2 separate regions of the Homo sapiens genome follow, and region 1 is linked to region 2. The links are contacts of gene promoters, found by promoter capture Hi-C in human tissues and cell types (Jung and others, 2019). All regions are on one chromosome and are shown on one strand. The core of a region is centred on a gene start or on the middle of the fragment in contact, and the rest is flanking DNA. Distances in the headings are between cores, read along the strand shown.

The links. Contacts are between HindIII fragments. The study calls those that stand out against the background at their distance.
Region 1: a contact is called between a fragment that was not itself captured here and the fragment with the promoter of CCDC125 in region 2, in 1 of the 25 tissues and cell types used here (hippocampus).

What each region holds. Positions count from the first base shown.
Region 1 is chr5:69,037,920-69,045,191 of GRCh38, forward strand. No RefSeq gene overlaps it. Among named protein-coding and RNA genes, the nearest start is that of LINC02198, 12 kb to the left of the region's middle. The HindIII fragment of the contact is 3,546 bases long and covers 1,889-5,434 here.
Region 2 is chr5:69,329,938-69,336,648 of GRCh38, forward strand. CCDC125 (coiled-coil domain containing 125) reads right to left here and starts at 2,864. Exons shown (of 12, transcript NM_176816.5): 1 at 2,712-2,864. It also overlaps the pseudogene CHCHD2P2. RefSeq lists a silencer at 6,105-6,399. The HindIII fragment of the contact is 34,363 bases long and covers 1-6,711 here.

The DNA of each region.
Region 1 (7,272 bases), core at 2,412-4,911, 290 kb before region 2:
TAAAAATACAAAAAATTAGCTGGGCGTGGTGGCAGGCGCCTGTAATCCCAGCCACTCGGAAGGCTGAGGCAGGAGAATCACTTGAACCCAGGAAGCAGAGGTTGCAGTGAGCCAAGACGGTGCCACTGCACTCCAGCCTGGGCAACGGAGCGAGACTCCGTCTCAGAAAAAAAAAAAAAAAAAAGGAAAACGAATGAGTGAATTCAGTACGAGAAAAATTTGCTATGTGCCCACTCTTTGGGCTGCTTCATGAGGAGGAATCTCCTGAAGGGGGACTTTGTGCTAGAGGAGAACAGGCAAGCCGTGATGGGGCTGGGGCCTGAGAGAGAGCATTTGAAGGACCAGCACCCGAGAGTGTGAGAAGGGGACCCACGTGGGATGGCCTTTTTGTTCCCTCACAGTCTCAGTCCCCTCAGACTCCCTAGGGCAGCAGTCCCCAACCCTTTTGGCACCGGGGACTGGTTTCATGGAAGACAATTTTTCCACAGATGGGGGGCAGGGGGTGGTTTCAGGATGATTCAAGAACATTACATTTATTGTGCACTTTATTTCTATTATTATTACATTGTAATATATAATGAAATAATTATACAACTCACCATAATGTAGAATCAGTGGGAGCCCTGAGCTTGTTTTCCTGCAACGAGATGGTCCCATCTGGGTGTGATGGGAGACAGTGACAGATCATCAGGCATTCTCATAAGGAGCACACAACCTAGATGTCTCGCATGCATGTTTCACAATAGGGCTCGCGCTCCTATGAGAATCTAATGCCACCACTGATCTGACAGGAGGTGGAGCTCAGGAGGTAATGTGTGCAATGGCGAGCGGCTATAGGTACATACAGATGAAGCTTTGCCTGCTCGCCAGACACTCACAACCTGCTGTCCAGCCAGTTCCTAAATTAGCTTATTTCCACCATACCAATCCATGGCCCAGGGACTGGAGACCCGTGCCCTATGAGGAACTGTTACTATGAATTAGGCTTAGTCTTTTGTTTTGTTTTGTTTTGTTTTTTTTGAGACAGAGTTTCAGTCTGTCACCCAGGCTGGAGTGCAGTGGCGCAATCTTGGCTCTCTGCAAGCTCTGCCTCCCCTCCCAGGTTCACACCATTCTCCTGCCTCAGCCTCCAGAGTAGCTGGGACTACAGGCGCCTGCCACCAAGCCCGGCTGATTTTTTGCATTTTTAGTAGAGACAGGGTTTCACTGTGTTAGCCAGGATGGTCTCGATCTCCTGACCTCGTGATCCACCTGCCTTGGCCTCCCAAAGTGCTGGGATTACAGTCATGAGCCACCGCACTTGGCCTAGGCTTAGTCTTTCAGCCTGTATTTTGCTGCATATATACCTATCTGCAAACAAAAGATACTTTTCTTTGTGTGTTAATTTCTACCCAACTTGGAAAAAATAGTAGCATCTAGTATACATCTTTCTGCAACTTGCTTTTTAAAAAAAAAAAAAACCTCATTGCCTCCTAATATATATTGATTGAGTTCATTCATTTCAACCACTTTGCATCATTTCATCATATAAACATACCTTGATTATTTATACATTCCCCTTTTGATGGGCATTAGCTTATTTCCAATTTTCATATTTTGCAAGCAGTGCCATAATATACAGCCTTTTCCATGTCTCCTAGTGCATATGTGCAAAAAGTTCTAGACCAATGAGTACCTAGAATTGGAATTGTTGGATCCTGTGGCATGCTTACTTTCAACTTTACAAGATATTGCCAAATTATTTTCCAAAGTGGTTGCACCATCTAGGCACAGTGGTTCACACCTGTAATCCCAGTGCTTTGGGAGGACAAGGTGGGATGATCACTTGAGGCTGGGAGTTTGAGACTTGCCTGGGATACATAGCAAGATCCCATCTCAATTTTAAAAATAATAAAAATATAAAATATATATAAATAAACAAAGTGGATGTATTAATTTACACTTGTACCCACTCCCCAAAGACTATTCTATGACTTTTTTTACTTTTGCCCTTATAATGCATATGAAGTGCTATCTTGTTTTAGTTTGCATTTTCCAGATTACTAATGAGGTTGTGCATCTTTTCATATACATTTTCCATCTGTGACTTGTCTATTTATACCCTTTGCCCATTTTTCTGCTTTATTTTTTGTCTGTTCCATATTGATTTGTAGGAGTTCCTTATATATTCTAGAAATTATTCCTGTGTTTCATATACCTGTTTTTTGTCCAACAGTTTGGAAACCAAAATATCACTAATCATTTCTGGAATATAGCATTCAGTTACATAGGCATTAATATCAGAAAAAATACCACTTGGTTTTCTAACCTAAAAAAATTTATAAAATAGTTTCTATCTTTGACTCTGATACACCAAAAATTTTACAAAGGGTCAGTTACTGGACCATCCAAGAATAGTTTATCACGTGGTCCAAAAAAAACTTGATACAATAGAAGAACTTTCTCTCACACTTGTTTTAAACTTCCTGTATCAGTCCAGTTCTCTCCACCTCAAGGAACAAAAACAGATGGCACACACGAATTAGGAAAATTGGAGGAGGTTTTATTTACAGAGGGACTAATTACAAAGGGGTGAGTGGGGATAGCAGAGCCATAAGAGATAGTGGCAGTGGAACTGTATAGGAATAGGGTAAAAGAGAGCTTGCCAGAACCCAAAAAGAGAATGGCATAGAGCAGGCCACCTAGACAAGAGCAGTGACATTCTGTTGAGAGACTCAGCAACTTGTGTCAACCTCGCAGGAAGGAACCAAGGAAATATATGCCCTGACCCCATGCTCCTTTCTCTCTCCCTCCCATCTCCTGCGGAAAGCCAGAAGGCATAGGTGCCTTTGCTGTGATCCACACAGGACAGCCTCCCAGAACAGAAAATTATGGATAAAGGTGGAAAATGAATCTAAAAGGTCAAATTGAAGAAATCCAGCAAGCTTGCCTAGCCAAATAACTTCAGATTCTATACCACACAAAAGAAAGGCAGATAAACTTTAAATGTAAAGAGTGACTTAAAGCACTTTTCTGGGCACAGTGGCTCACCCCTGTAATCCCAGCACTTTGGAAGGCTGAGGCGTATGGATCACCTGAAGTCAGGAGTTTGAGATCAGCCTGGCCAACATGGTGAAACCTCGTCTCTACCAAAAATACAAAAACTATCCCAGCATGGCGGTTCATGCTACTTAGGAGGCTGAGGCAGGAGAATCACTTGAACTCGAGAGGCGGAGGTTGCAGTGAGCCAGGATCATGCCACTGCACTCCAGCCTGGGCAATAGAGCGAGACTGCATCTCAAAAAGAAATTTTTTAAAAAGAGCACTTTCTGGAATTATACAAGAGTAGTGAAAGATGGATAATAGAGGCAGATACCACTTTATCTCCTATTTTCTATCTTTCATTTCTGCCAAGGAGAAAGATTACTGGCCAGAAAATAATACAACAAGGATTAAGATAAAAGATCTAAAAATCCAAACTGGTGGAAAAATCATAAGAAAGCATCTGGGTTCTCTACATCGGTGCAAACCTCCTGGCCCCAACAAACTACATCCTAGCCTATACCTAGAAGAGATTGGTGACAAAATGAGCTGCTGTTCGTTATCACAAAGAATTCTAGAAACTGGGGCAGGAATCAATAGTGCAATTCTCAGGCAGGTTGTCTAACACCACCTTGAACATGGAGAGAAGAAAGGGGAGTATTTAATTGTGCATAAGATTCAGATAGGGAAAGTCATGACTAATGAATTAACAGGACTTCTGTTTTTATCCAAACTCTGCCAGACTGACAAATCAGAAGAAGCTGTCAATACGCAGCTTCACCATTTGAACTCAGCATTTGACAGAGACTTTTACCTTGTGAACAAGACAGAAGAATGTGGCCCAGATGATCACAAAGATAGGTGCTAATTATGAATCAATGTCAGCCCAGAGTTTCTAGTGTAAAGGAATTCTGTTTGCAGACTTGTCCTGTTCATTGAGTAAATAGTTGAGTGTACAGTTGGCTTGCTAATGCACTTCTCTGACTGCTGGGAAAGGTAGCCAATATATTTAATATGGCAGAGTGAAGATCCAAAGGCTCTAACGATAAGCCAAACTTAATAAAAATTTTAACTGAAATAAATGTAAAGCCCTACGCTTACATTTTTTTCGTGCATAAGAACAGAATCAGGTCCAGGCGCGGTGGCTCACACCTGTAATCCCAGCACTTTGAGAGGCCGAGGTGGGCGGATCACCTGAGGACGGGAGTTCAAGACCGCCTGACCAACATGGAGAAACCCCGTCTCTACTAAAAATACAAAAAAAAAAATTAGCCGGGCATGGTGGCGCATGCCTTTAATCCCGGCTACTCGGGAGGCTGAGGCAGGAGAATCGCTTGAACCCGGGAGGCGGAGGTTGTGGTGAGCCGAGATTGCACCATTGCACTCCAGCCTGGGCAACAAGAGTGGAAACTCCGTCTCAAAAAAAAAAGAACAGAATCAGAAAAACATGACTAGGCCCCTAATTAAACATGGTGGGGTTTATTTCTTTCTTGTTTTATTTCTTCTGTCCTCCCAAACCTATCAAAATGATAATAGATTAATTTTTGACAAAAAGTAAAACTCAAAAAAAAAAGAATGAGAGAGGAGAAATAGAAGACAGGAGATATGAGCAATAATTTGAAACACAGAAAGTGCATAGTAACTGATTTAGCAGAGCCTACCGTCAATGGGTCTGCAAAGAAGAATTCCAATGAAAGTGAAACCAATTCACTCCCAAGAACCCTGGAAAGACCTAGCACTAGGTTCTGTCCGGGTGCTGCAGAAAGGAGTGGTGAAGCACTGAGTGAAAAGTAATAGTGTGTGAAAGTATTCATATTAATAGAATGAGCTGCTTAGTGAGGGTGTGTTTTCATTCACTGAAGATGTTGGAGCAGAATTAAACACTAATCAAATATGTTATAAAAGTGATTCAAATGTTGGACACAAACTTGACTCCAATGACTTTTAAAGCCCCATCACTCTGAAATCCTATGATTCTAGAATTTATAGTTACTTACAAAATTGTGTAGACAGGACTTCAATAGGTTTTAGGTACTTCCGGATGTATTTTTATCAGCGTCCAATAGGTGGCGCTGTGGTATAAGATGAGACTCAGCAAATGGCTGCCCTTACTTGATTCTCCTGTGCCCTACCGAGTGTCTAATAACAAGTAACAGCTAGAATGTTTGATTTTTTTTAATCGGAAATCTAAACCCAGAGATTCAGAACACCTAGGTTTCATAGTTCTTGTGGCGCATGAGCCTTTGTGTGATTTAGTTTGTCATCCTTCTCTGTCCTTCCGTCTTATTCCTATCCAAGTTGTGGCACTTCAATGTATTTGTCGTTCTCGGACAGCAAAGTAAGTCAAACGCGAAACAACTCCCCCTTCACATCCCGGATGCCCTGCCTCCATTGCGTGTACCCTTTATCTCAGGGCTCTGAGTGTGTGGGGCTCTACAAGCGTTATCTCCCTTGATTTAAAAAATAATAATAAATAAAAACAAGACAAAACAAAGAACTTACTGTTCCAGCACAAGTTTACATCAGTATCGATCAGGAATACGATTGTCTCCGGCTGTCCTCCCTTTTCTGCTGATTAGGAGATTCATGCTTCGCTTCTTTGTTTTTGTTGTTTTTGTTTTCGTTTTGATTTATTAAATGAATTCCTTCATATCATAGCCAAGTCCAATACACTTTGCTTCCTAAAAGCTAATTACTTAATATCTAGCTCTTATTGACAAATTTTGCCACTCATCAAAGTTGTAAAACTTGGTTTCTTCATTTCCCTTTATCTGCTTCAGATTTACAAGGTCCCTGGGGAATTTCTGCTTCTCATCAAGGAATGTCTCCATCAACTCCATATATTCAGGTAACTCTGCTCCCACATTGAAGACTCAAATCCAGGAAAATTTCCTAACATGAGGCATCTGTAAAGCTGTCCAATTCACCCTCTTGGCATAACCTGTCCCGCAGGGTTTTTCAACTTAATGATTTTTTTTTTCATTTTGGCTAAATGCCATTAGTCCACCCAGAAAGCAAGACTGGCCTTTTTGTTTGTTTGTTTTTAACGGAGGTTTCACTCTTGTTGCCCAGGCTGGAGTGCAGTGGCGCGATCTCAGCTCACTGCAACCTCCGCCTTCCAGGTTCAAGCAATTCTCCTCCCTCAGCCTCCCAAGTAGTTGAGATTACAGGCACGTGCCACCACTCACAGCCAATTTTTGTATTTTTATTAAAGACGGGGTTTCACCATGTTGCATGTTGGCCAGGCTGGTCTCAAACTCCTGACCTCAAGTGATATGCCTGCCTCAGCCTCCCAAAGTGCTGGGATTACAGACGTGAGCCATTGCACCGGCCAAGGCTGCCTTTTTTAAATACTTGAGTCTAGTCTAACTGACAAGAAATGTTAGTGAGTTGAGCTGGGGGGGAAAAGGCCCATACTCACAATGCAAAACAGTAACAAACCCCAAACAACAACAGCAACAACAACAAAAAACCAGCATTCTTTCCATGACCAGATTTTCAATAGTAATTTCATCTTTGCACCTTGTGTAAGTACACATCCTAGCAGCCTTGCTCAGTTACATATCTGATTGACTCCTGTTGTTTTACTTGGTTTTCTAAAATGTCCTCTGTACTAATCTGATCTGAACTCATATTTTCCATCAGTTCTATACCAACTTTCTAGACTTGATCTTTCTGTTGTTCTCTGGAAAGAACAGAAGTATTTAGAGCAGTTAATAAGCACTTGTGGAAACCTCTCTGAGTTGTTTGTCTCACAGAAGGAAGAGTTACACCTGGCTAATTAGTCCTCCAACTACATCGTTTCTGTAGTTTCAAAACGTTCTCACATTTCCAACATCAGTGGTGTAAGTGAACACCCACCCACCCCAAATCACAAAATAAAAAACTTTCAAAGGAATGTTATGCATTTGTCATACAGATTCTCATATGTTTATTTTAAATTTATTATGTTCATAACATATTTAGTCTGTTAAGTAGCTTATAATGTTGGGTTGGAAGTAGTGTTCTTAGTGGTCCTTGTAATCTGCTATCAGGCAAATTGCAGAGCCTATTGAAAAGGAAAGATTTTCAACTTTGTGGGTTCGAATTCTACATACAAGCCCCTACTCAAGCCGCATTCATTTATGTTGTGATGAAGCTGTGTACTGGGAGACCCTGGAACGGCCCAATGGGTTCACCTTTCCCGCTGCCTAGACAGAGCGAATTTATCAAGACAGGGGAATTGCAGTAGAGAAAGAGTAATTCACACAG
Region 2 (6,711 bases), core at 1,614-4,113:
TAGGATGAATAGATTACAGTCTGTTAGCAGTCGTCTCACTTTTCCACTAAAACAACTCTTTAAAAGATGACCAGTGACTTCCTCATAGATAAATCCAAGATCAAGTTTCATTCCTCAGTCTCCTCTACCTTTGCAGGAGCTGTGACACTACTGACTCACTAAGTCCAGGTCCACCTGACTCCTGAAGCCCCTAGAAATAGAAATCTGATCCTCCTCCTTCCCTGACTCATATCTTCTCATATCTGTCCTCTAAGGCTCTTTTTCTTTTTCCTGTCCCTTTTGTAAATGTTTGGCTTCTTTTACTAATCTTAAATACACATCTCCAACTGGATATTCCACCAGCAATCCAAGCACATCTTGCTCAAAAACAAATTCACCGCCGGGCACGGTGGCTCATGCCTGTAATCCCAGCACTTTGGAGGCTGAGGCGGGCGGATCATGAGGTCAGGAGTTCGAGACCAGCCTGGCCAACATAGTGAAACCCTGTCTCTGCTAAAAATACAAAAATTAGCTGGGCACGGTGGTGTGCACCTGTAGTCCCAGCTACTCGGGAGGCTGAGGCAGGAGAATCGCTTGAACCCGGGAGGCAGACATTGCAGTGAGCCGAGATTGCACCACTGCACTCCAGCCTGGGTGACAGAGCAAGACTCCATCTAAAAAAAAAAAATTCACTATCCTCCCAGCCCCCATTCCAGGTCTCCCTCTGAGTCCTCTATTTCTGCAAATGCATCAACTATGCTCCAAAACACTCAGGAGCAAAACTTTGGAATTGTTTTTTCCTCTTTGGTCTTCACATGCCTTCAGTTGCTAGGTCTTCTAGACCCAAAAAAATCTCCCCAAACTATGTCATTCTTTGCACATTAATTTCACTGCCCTGGTGGAACGTCTCTTTAATTCCCCAAGGCTAGCCTGATAATTTCCTAATTGGTCTACTTCAAGCCAACCTACATACTGCTGCCAAGTCAATAATATCCAAGTGCAAACCGAATGATGTCTCTCTCTTGCTGTAAAACATTCCATGGCTCCCATGGCATGTATAATTGTAGTCAATGTCACCCTGTTTTCCTTTTTAAAAAAAATGTAGGCTGGGCACAGTGGCTCACACATGTAATCCGAGCACTTTGGGAGGCTGAGGCGGGCAGATCACCTGAGGTCAGGAGTTTGTGACCAGCCTGGCCAACATGGTGAAACCCCGTCTCTACTAAAAATACAAAAATTAGCCAGGTATGGTGGCGGGCGCCTTTAATCCCAACTACTTGGGAGGCTAAGCAGGAGAATCGCTTGAACTTGGGAGGTGGAGGTTCCAGTGAGCTGAGACAGCACTATTGTCTGTCACCCACGCTGGAGTGCAATGGTGCGATCTCGGCTCACTGCAACCTAGACCTCCTGGGTTCAAGCGATTCTCCTGCCTCAGCCTCCCCAGTAGCGGAGATTACAGGCGCCCACCACCATGCCCGGCTAATATTTGTATTTTTGTAGAGACGGGGTTTCACCATGTTGGCCAGGCTGGTCTAGACCTCCAGACCTCAGGAGATCTGCTCACCGGTCTCCCAAAGTGCTGGAATTACAGGCGTGAGCCACTGCGCCCAGCCGAAACTCCGTTTCAAAAAAATAAAAATAAAAATAATGTATCCAACTGAAGTGTCACCCTGTTTTCTACAACAAAGCTACAGTTTTCACCTCCAGTTTCATCTGGCAGTACTCCCTGGATGTACTCTGCGCTTCCACGTAAGAGGAACTGCACTTGCTCCCAGGGCTCCTCCCTCAGCTCAGCTTGGTCACCTGCAAGCCTCTATTGGTGCCATTCTTCACCCCAGGAATGCTGTTTCTTCTCAGAGCCCCCTCAGTTCAGGACAGCACTCCCTCCAGTAGCCTTCCTGACTCCCTTGGACCAGATGTGATTTCTTCCACATCTGAGTCTTCCCAGTTCTGGGAGGTTTTACTGAATCTTTTTAATAGTGCTTACTTCCTACCTGACCTAGACTGACTGTATATTCCCTTATGCAGAGACTTTGTGTGTCTCGTTTGCTTATGCACAACATGTGTTCCAAAGATATTTGACAGAATCGAAAGAGAAAACCGATTCCTGCCCGGAAACCTTTGGACAGAAGAATCTACATTCAGTAGCCTGACAACTCTGCCTTAGCAAACAAGTTGGTCAAACATGCCTAACTCCATGACAAAGAGGAACTAACTTGAGCCCTCCCTGGTGAACAATGGCCTGCTGCACTTTGCTTTAGGATTTTGTTTCTTAACTTTTCATTTTAGAATAATTTTAGATGTACAGTAAATTGCAAAGATAGTACTAAGAATTCCTGTGTACCTTTTACCCAAATTCCTCTAATGTCAACATTTGTGTACAATTTGTCGAAATTAAGAAATTAACATGGGTACGTGCTATTAACTAAACCACAGCCTTTATTATTTTTTCCACTAATGTCTTTTTCTGTTTCAGGATCCAAACCAGGATACTGGCGCTATAGTTTTATAAGGCTCAAAATTAACAGAAGAGAAAAAAAGTAAAGCAGGTGGAGAGGCAGAGAGAGAAATAGGGTCTCTGAAATCTATTTCTTATTTTTTTCTTATCAGACGAGGCCATTAAACTGGCATTCAGGGAAAAGGATTTGGGCAGTTTGTCCACAACCTGCAGAGTTTCCACGAATCTGCGCATCCCGCCCCTGCCCTGGGTCCTCCCCACTCCCGGTTCCCACCTGCCAGGTCTGACCCCGGGTACCCTCTCAAGGTCCGTGGCGGGGACCGGAGCCCGGACTCCAGCTCAGCGAACAGCACCCTCCTACCGCCCCGGCGCCCCACTCAGCTCGCTCACCTGGCAAGTAGCCTCCTCTCCGTGCGCGTGCGCCGCTGCCGCCGCGCGTCCTCCGGGCCACCACGTGACCGCGTGGGCGCAGTCCCAGACAGGAAACGCCGGTGAGGTCGCCCTGGGCCATGGAGGCAGCTCGCGCTACTTTTTCGCGACCTCACTGTGTTCCTGTGTGCAACCTGATGTTAGCTCTGTCCACCTTCAGCTCCAAAGCCAACCACGGGTAACCAATATGCAAACAATGACATGAGATTTAGAAAAACAACAAGACGGGGCCTGTGTCAATACAGGTAAAATTTGGTGGTTCAAACATTGAGGTTCAGACCGGCGCGGGGTTTCACACCTGTAATCCCAGCTTTTGGGAGGCCAAGGCGGGAGGATCGCTTGAGGCCAGGAATTCGAGACCAGCATGGCCAACATAGTGAGACCCCGCTCTACAAAAAATTTAAAAAGTAGGGCTGGGCGCGGTGGCTCACGCCTGTAATCCCAGCACTTTAGGTGGCCGAGGCGGGTGGATCACGAGGTCAGGAGATTGAGACCATCCTGGCTAACACAGTGAAAACCCTTCTCTACTAAAAATACAAGAAATTAGCCGGGCGTGGTGGCGGGTGCCTGTAGTCCCAGCTGCGCAGGAGGCTGAGGCAGAATGGCGTGAACCCGGGAGGCGGAGCTTGCAGTGAGCCAAGATCGTGCCACTGCACTCCAGCCTGGGCAACAGAACGAGTCTCCGTCTCAAAAAAAAAAAATAATTAAAAAGTAGCGGGTGTGGTGGTGCGTACCTGTAGTCCCAGCTACTCAGGAGGCCGGGAGGCCGTCAGGTGGGAGGATCCCGTGAGCCTGGGAGATCCAGGCTACAGTGACCACTGCACTCCAGCCTGGGCGACGGAGTGGAGACCCTGTCTCAAAAAAGAAACAAACCAAAACCAAAATATTAAGTCTCTAGGAATCCTGTAAGAGAAGGGTAGATCGGGCCAGGTGCGGTGGCTCACGCCTGTTAACCCAGCACTTTGGGAGGCCAAGGTGGGTGGATCACCTGAGGTCAGAAGTTTGAGACCAGCCTGGCCAACATGGTGAAACCCCATCTCCACTAAAATACAAAATTTAGCCGGTCGTCACACGTCCGGAGGCCGAGCCGTCGCGTACCTAGGATGCCGCGTGGAAGCCGAAGCCGCACCTCCCGCATGGCCCCTCCGGCCAGCCAGGCCCCCTCAGATGAGAGCTGCACCCAGGCCAGTACCAGTCGTTCAGCCACCAGCAGCGGCACCCCCATCTGTAGTTGGCTCTTCTGCTGCTGCGCCCCGGCAGCCAGGTCTGATGGCCCAGATGGCAACCACTGCAGCTGGCGTGGCTGTGGGCTCTGCTGTGGGTCACGCCATTACTGGGGCTTTCAGGGGAGGAAGTAATGCTGAGCCTGCGAGGCCTGACATCACTTACCAGGAGCCTCAGGGAACCCAGCCGGCACAGCAGCAGCAGCCTTGCTTCTATGAGATCAGTTTCTGGAGTGTGCCCAGAACCAGGGTGACATCAAGCTCTGTGAGGGTTTCAATGAGGTGCTGAAACAGTGCCGACTTGCAAACGGATTGGCCTAATCAAGAAGTTCAACCTGGAGAGATGGAAAATCAGCTCTCATAACTAAGTTAATTTAGTATAAAAATAGAATTGATAGTGAGGGTATAAAGTGTAACCATGAGTTAAACCTCTCCTGTCATTCCTAGCTTCCTTGCTTCAGAATTGAAATGGAAGGGGGGTGTTCCTACTCTGTAGAATCTGTGACAGGGCAAATGTTTGTGTGGCCTCCTTAAACTAGCTGTTATGATTTTATTCTTTGTGAGTTAATTAGAATAAAGTCATTTTCTTCCAAAAAAAAAATTAGCCGGTCGTGGTGGCAGGTGCCTGTATTCCCAGCTGCTTGGCTGAGGCAGGAGAATCTCTTGAACCCGGCAAGCGGAGTTTGCCGTGAGCCGAGATCGCGCCACTGCACTCCAGCCTGGGTGACAGAGCAAGACTTTGTCTTAAAAAGAGGAGGTGGGGGTGGGAGAGAGAGAGAGAGAGAGAGAGAGAGGGAGAGGGAGGGAGAGAGAGAGAGAGAGAAATCTAAGCTGAGGTTCAGAGGTAGAGGCAGTCATTGAAAAACAGGCTTTTGCGGGCGGGCGGCGTCCACTGCAAGGATGCACTGTCTGGCTCCCTCTGGAGGCGGGAGCACGAAGGAGCGACCACGGAGCCCTTGAGCCTGTGGATGGTGGCCTCGGCGGCCGGCAGGCCATGCTGGAGTATCTGCCAACCTGATGAAGACGAGGACGTCCCACAAGTTCCGGACAGACGTGGCCGCCAAATTAATGAGGAAAGAAAAGGAGTCTTTTTTTTTTTTTTTAAAGACAGAGTTTTTCTCTTGTTGCCAGGCTGCAGTGCAGTGGCGAGATCTCAGCTCACTGCAACCTCTGCCTCCCGGGTTCAAGTGATTCTCCTGCCTTAGCCTCTGGAGTAGCTGAGATTACAGGTCTGCACCACCACGCTCAGCTAATTTTGTATTTTTAGTAGACAGGGGGTTTCTCCATGTTGGTCAGGCTGGTCTCGAACTCCTGACCTCAGGTGATTCGCCCGCCTTGGCCTCCCAAAGTGCCGGGATTACAGGCGTGAGCCACCGTGGCTGACCAAAGGTGTCTTAAGCTTAGAAAAATGATAAAAGATATAAAAGCTGCCTAGGAATGAAACTACTGGGTCATATGAGGCTCCTTCAGGGTGCGCAAAGTCCTGGAAACCAGCATGCAGATAAGGAAAGAAAGAGACCATCAGTCCATGCAGTTGTCAGCTGGCTGGGAGCTGAGGAGAGTCACTTGTGGAGGCACCTGATCTTTGTCCCCCACGTCCCAGACAAGCCCATATCTCACTTTCAGAACTAAGATGCTTGGGAAACCAAGACAAGGAACTGTGTATTGCAAACAGCATTACCCTAGAGAAGAAGTGGCAGGAGATGACCTACAAAAAAATGGAGCAATAGCCTAGAGCAAGAAACAGAACAAAAGAGAACTGAGTCACCTCCTGGAAGGTCACACAAGACAAGCACATATTCAGGGGCCTCCTAACAGACTAGACTTCCAGCATCCTCAGTTGGGGCTAGACACTTTTTACATAGACATTCAATACTAGAGAACTCAGGGACATCTGATTTATACCATGAAATACATACACAGCAGATGTGTGCCTGTGGAGCAGAATTCTGGAAAAGCTCACAGCCCAGAACATAATGCAGACTCCCCCAGCCACAGCACCTTCCAATCCTGAGAAGAGTGCTGATTCTCCATCTGAGCACCCATTCTCCTGCAACATCAGGGGAGAGGAGTTCACCTAAGGATCAGACCAGTATCTCCAAACCCAGCTCCCCACCTCTGCCTGTTGGTGGCACTTGTGGGTGAAGGGGAGATGGTATGAAAAGACTCACAACAGGAGTCACCTGAACAAGGTGGGGCTTGGTGGAAACTGACATTTGTTCCTGTTGGAGGCAAATGTGGAATTTGGCATCTTGCCTTAGCAACAGACACATGAAATTCTCCAGTGCCCAGGACTTTTGACAGTGACTTCAAAGCACAGCTGGGAGACCCATGTGGCCCAGGCTCTACCCAGGCAGGAGCTCAGCTTCACTCACAGCAGGATTCCTAGTGCCAAGAACACCATGGGTGCATAGCAGGTGATCAAAATAATTGTATGTGGCTGAATCAGTGAGAGGTAAGAGAGAGGACTTGAGGCCGGGCACGGTGGCTCATGACTGTAATCCCAGCACTTTGGGAGGCTGAGGTGGGTGAATCACAAGGTCATGAGATCAAGACCATCCTGGCTAACACAGTGAAACCCCATCTCTACTAAAAACACAAAACATTAGTCGGGCGTGGTGG